2 separate regions of the Homo sapiens genome follow, and region 1 is linked to region 2. The links are contacts of gene promoters, found by promoter capture Hi-C in human tissues and cell types (Jung and others, 2019). All regions are on one chromosome and are shown on one strand. The core of a region is centred on a gene start or on the middle of the fragment in contact, and the rest is flanking DNA. Distances in the headings are between cores, read along the strand shown.

What was found. The method cuts DNA at HindIII sites, captures the fragments that hold promoters and counts their contacts. A contact is called where the count stands out against the background at its distance.
Region 1: a contact is called between a fragment that was not itself captured here and the fragment with the promoter of BACE2 in region 2, in 1 of the 25 tissues and cell types used here (pancreas).

The regions. Positions count from the first base shown.
Region 1 is chr21:41,204,492-41,207,191 of GRCh38, reverse strand. The region is part of intron 1 of BACE2 (beta-secretase 2); the gene reads right to left. Among named protein-coding and RNA genes, the nearest start is that of PLAC4, 21 kb to the right of the region's middle. The HindIII fragment of the contact is 8,136 bases long and covers 1-2,700 here.
Region 2 is chr21:41,166,823-41,169,526 of GRCh38, reverse strand. BACE2 (beta-secretase 2) reads right to left here and starts at 1,367. Exons shown (of 9, transcript NM_012105.5): 1 at 952-1,367. The coding sequence starts at 1,263. It overlaps MIR3197 (microRNA 3197), which reads right to left and starts at 1,970; the gene lies at 1,898-1,970. RefSeq lists a silencer at 1,359-1,808. The HindIII fragment of the contact is 5,609 bases long and covers 1-2,704 here.

The DNA.
Region 1 (2,700 bases), core at 96-2,595, 38 kb before region 2:
AATTTTAGGACATGTCATTTTACCTACAAATTAGTTCTTCCTGCACATTTTCTAAAGAAGTGTGAATAAATTCTTATCAAAGGTGTAATGTCTTAGTTCTCAAGATGTTTCTGGAGTTTCACTAAATGTTCTCTTTTGCTCAAGAGTTGATGACAGCAATTGAAGACCCACTCCAAACCTGAACTTACAGAAAAAGAACATCGTTAACTTTACCCTAGTTACCAACATTCAAATTTTGTCACAATTTTAAATAAACATAAAAAAAGAAAGAGATAAGGCATATACGCCTGCTGCAGCATCAGGCAAGACTTTTAAGTTACTGCAATTTATAAGATGATTACTCCTTGCAATTATTCTAGATATTAACATTCATTTTTTCTAAAATGTGGTAAATACACATAACTTAAAATTTACCATCTTAGTTCTTTCTAAAGGTGAAGTTCAATGGCGTTAAGTACATTCACATTGTTGTGTAACCATCATCATCACCCACCTGAGGAACTCACTTCATTTTACAAAACTGAAACCCGTTACCCATTAAACAACTCCTCACTCTCCATTCCTGCGGACACCACCCTTAATGTTTCTGTCTCTATGAATTTGCCTTCTCCAGGAACCTCACATAAATGGAATCATCCAGTGCTTGTCCTTTTGTAACAGTCTTCTATCACATAGCATAAGGTCTTCAAGGTTCATCCATGTTATAGCATGTGCCAGAACCGTCTTCCTTTTTAAGGCTGAATAATATTCCATTATATGCTGTTATGACCTGATTGTTTGTATCCCCTGCCTTTTGTTGCAATCCTAATCCCCAAGGTGGTGCTATTAGGAGGCAGGGCCTTTGGGAGGTGATTAGGTCATGAGGATGGAGCCTCATGGATGGGATTAGTGCCCTTATAAAAAGGACGGAGGAGCTCTCACCCTCTTTCTGCCATCTGAAGATGCAATGAAGAGCAGGCAGTCTGCAGCCCAGAAGGTGGCCCTCGTTGGACCCTGACCATGCTGGCACCTGGACCTTGGGTTTCCAGTCTCCAGAACTAAGAGAAATACATTGACATTATTTATAAGCCACTCAGTCTAGGGTACTTTGTTAGGGCAGCCCAAACTAAAACATAAGTATAGACCAGAATTTTGTTTATCCATTCAACTGTCCACAGACACTTGTGTTGTTTCCACCTTTTGCTATTGTGAATGATGCTGCTGTGAACACAGGTGTGTGACTATCTCTTCAAGACCCTGCTTTCAGTTCTTTGGGGGAGATTCATTTTTTCAGTAAATATTTATTTCTAATAAATATTAAGTGAGCAGCTACTATGTGCCTGAGTCATAGAGATGAAGAAGATACAGTGTTCCCCATTGAATTCATGACCCGATGTTAAGACGGAAGACCAGGCTTCTCTTTCATAACAGTTTTCAATTCCTGTGGAATTGGCTTTTGCACTGGTGAGGGATGAAGTACAAGCAACTACAGACAATTCATGTGAGGTTTTCCACTCAAAATTTCATTTCTCCTCGGCCACCCAACACGCTTAAAAAAATTAGCCCTTCTGTTTATTATAATATTTTTCAAGGCAACAGAATAATTATACTATGTAAGACACAACAGAAGTAGGAAGGTAAATTTTCTAATGGGGAAGCGAATTGCCAACCACACAATCTGTTATTTTCAATCACGCACAAAGATGACGGAATAATAATCATATTGTATTTAAAACTGACCTGCTGAATGGCCTTGCAATTTTACCACATTTTAGCCAAATGAATCTTCATATCTAGAATAATTGCAAGGAGTAACCATCTTATAACTGGGGTAACTCAAATGTATCTCATCTATGAAAACACATTATAAAATATTGATTAAGGTTAAGGGCTTTGAAAGCAGAAAATGTGACTTAATTTCTAAGTGTTGAAAAGGTGCAAACACTTCTTAGCAACAATGACAATTGTATGTGAGTATGTTAATGATAATGACTGATAATCTACAAATCCTAGTACTCACCTGAATGTGGAATGCTGTGACCTAGCTTTACAATGAAATCTTCTTAAAATCTAAAATTTCATCTTCGTTTTACAGTAATCTTTTTGCATGGGATCTGATCAGCCCAAACTGAATGCGCAACACAGAAAAACCATTGTGTTCAATTTGCTACCCTTCGCTAATTTCAGGCCAGCCATTTAAGAAACAGGCTATTTCTATGTGGCTCATATAAGGCTTTGATGTTTTTTTCCATGGTAAACCCACAAGAAAAAAAAAGTATTTTAATAGGCATATAGTGATCAAAGATATTATTCTCTTCTAAAAAGACTTTCTTAAAGCCCTTCCAAGGGAATTTCTCACAAGAAAGCATTAAATCTCTATTGACTGACCTCTACATTTTTATGGTGTCCAGATATTTTGAAAGAATGCTAACCCAGAAGAGAAATGACAGATGCATCCCTCTTTGGCTTCTATGGCCAGCAAAATACAGACGTTTGCTTTAATTATGGTATAGAAAAGTCATAAAGAAATCTTTCAGAACATTCTAGAGACAGGAAAAATGAAGAAGACTTGGAGAAAAAAATTGCAACATATTAACCTTGGCAAAGTCTTCAACATACGTGTGACAGCCCTTGAACGTGAGTGTTAAATATGTTTGCTGGAGCAGCAGTGGAGACAGGTACCACCCATGGTCCTAGCTCCAGCCCCTCTCCGTGGGCACT
Region 2 (2,704 bases), core at 118-2,617:
ACTTCAAATCCCACTTGGATTAGACAGTTTGAAAGTAGGAGGGGGCAGATCAATTGGGATTTTTTTTTTTTTTTTTTCAGATCACTGTGCTTGGGAACATTTGTTTCTTGCTACAAAAAGTGTTAGTAAATGAACATCAGAGTAAGAGAAAAGGAAAGCTGTTTGATTTTATTTTTGTGTTGTAATCGGGATACCACTTGGTCCCCGGACACCTCACTCAGCCCCTGTTTTTTTCCCGGTAGCTGGAATGCTTTTCACACTCTGCACACCCGCGTGTAGATGCATCGCTCCGTGCAGAGGGGCAGGGCCGCCGGATGAGCGAGGACACAGCTGACAAACCAACTCCGAGAAAGGAAAGCGGGCGCAGGGGAGACGCTGCTCCTTCCTCAGAGCAGCAAGCGAGCCACTTCTTAACCGGGTTGCTTTTAGCTGAGCTCATGCATAAATCCTTTTTAAAGGGTACTGCGCCTTTGGAAGCCGGCCACGAGCCTCTTTAGCAATGAGACAGCATGGTGGTGGGGTGGGGGGGGGGCGGGGGGGAGGGAGGGTATGAACACGAGGTGATTTTCCCCATAATAGCCCGTCGCCCAAGGCCCACCGCTCCGTCTCCCGCTGGAAGTAGGTGTCGCCCGCAAGAAGGAAATCACGTTATTGGAGGCGGCAAGTTCCAGGTCTCCTCTCCCGCCCAGCCCCGCGGAGGGGGAGCTCACAAGTTCTGAAACACTCGCGCACACCCCTCAGTGCGCCCCGGGCGGGGGCTGCCGTCCTCCGCGACTCAAGAGCGAGCGCCCCCGCTCCCCGGCCCACCCGAGCCCCTCTGCGTTCCCCGCTCTTCTGTGCGGGGACAGCTGCTGCTTTGGGGGCGACGCTAAGCCGCGTGGAGGCGTCTCTGGACAGCCCCCTCCCTCCAACGAGCCCGAAAAGCCCGCGGCAGCAGCCGGGGGTCCCTACCTTCTGCGGGGGGGTCCCGATCAGCATCTCCAGGTAGTAGCCGCGGCCAGAGTCCCCCTGCAGGTTGTCTACCATGGCCAAGAAGTTGGCGGCGCCCGCGGGGGACGCCAGGGCAGGCTCCAGGGCGAGCGCCAAGCCGTCGGCGTGGCGCTCGGCAGGGGTCCCGGGTCCCGGGGTGGGCGCAACTACGCGGTTCGTGGCCGCGGCCACCCGGAGGGGCAGCGTGAAGGGCGCGGGGGCCAGCTCCGGGGCGGCGCGCAGGAGCCACTGGGCCAGCAGAGGCAGCAGCAGCGCCCGGGCCAGTGCGCCCATGCCCACGGCGGGGCCCGGGGGGCGCGCCCAGCCTAGCCGGTCCCGTCCCGTCCGGCAGCCGCGGCTCAGCGACTCGGCCGGCGCGCGGGGCTGCGGGCAGGGATGGGCGCGCACCGGGACCGGCGGCGGCGGGGAGGACGGGAGGAGGGCCCAGGGGAGGAGGCTCGCGGGAGGGGAGGAGGCTCGCGGGAGGGGAGAAGGCGGAGGCCGGGGAGGCGGGCGCGGAGGCGCAGAGCCGCCCCAGCCCGCGCCGCCAAGTTGGGCAAGTTCTTCTCCGCTGCCCCCTCTGGCGGCCGCGACTGCCCCGCAGCGGCCCAGCCCCTCCCCCGCGGCCAAGGTCACAGCGGGGCTCGGGGGGCGCCGGGGTCCACCTGCGCCTGCCCTCCCCACCCTCGCCGGGCTCAGGCCGCGCCTCTTCCCCGGGAAACTCGAGTCCCGAATTTCCTCGGAAAGCGCCCCAGCGGCCACGGCCAACGGATGTGACGAGGCTCATCTGATACCGGGGGGAAAGTTTCGAGAACCCTTAAAGGGGCAGCGAGGGCCTGAACTAGGGCCCCGGCCCCGCGCGCTTGGGGGTCCGCGGGGGTCTATTCGCCCGGCAGTGGCGGGAGCTTCCGGGGGTGACTCGGAGGTCAGCGAGGAGAGCGGTGGATCGGGAAGGAGCCTGGAGCCTCGCGCGCCTTTCCGAGCCTGCGCCTCCCCTCGCCAAGCTCCTCCGCCTCATTTCAGTCGCCGGGTCTGGCTGCTTTCGAGGCGTTTCCCGTCCGCTGCCCCCGAGCCCCCGCCCTCAGTCCAGCCCGTTCCCCGGCCTCATCCCCCGGCGGCCCCTGGGTGGTTTTAAAGAGGTCTCAGTGGAGGCTGGGAGGGTGGAGGGTGGAAGGAGGCAGAGGAGGATGCGAGAGCTTTGGAGAATTTTCCCTAAAAATCGGGGGAGGTGGGGGGCGTGGCTGCTGCTGGCGCCTGGCCCCAGCCTCATTGCCCCCCCTTACTCCCTCTGTTGCCCACAGCTAGCTGCGAAGCTGGGCTTCACCCCAGCCACCTTCCCCCCACCCCCGCCCCCTTCGCCCCCTCCGCCGCGCCCCTGTCCCTAATGCAGGTCAGATGCTACTGGAACCCGCTGCCTCCCCTGGCACCCAGCCCTCAGGCCACCTAGTAAGTTGCTGTCAGGATCCCAAATCAGGGCCACGAGTCCACCCTGCTGTGATCCCTGCCCTTCTCCCCCACCTCCCCTTCTATCCCCAGCCAGCTCTCTGCGGACTGTCTAATTAATACTCGTTTAGCCATAGACGCCAAGACGCAGAAATGCGTTGAGTAATGCAAGCAACGAGGGTTATTTTATTTTAGATACTAAAGGCAGGGGGGACAATTAGACAAGCTAAAGTCCATCGATTTCTACAGAAACAAGGAATAGAAAATTCTTTGTACCTCCTCCAGCTGAATT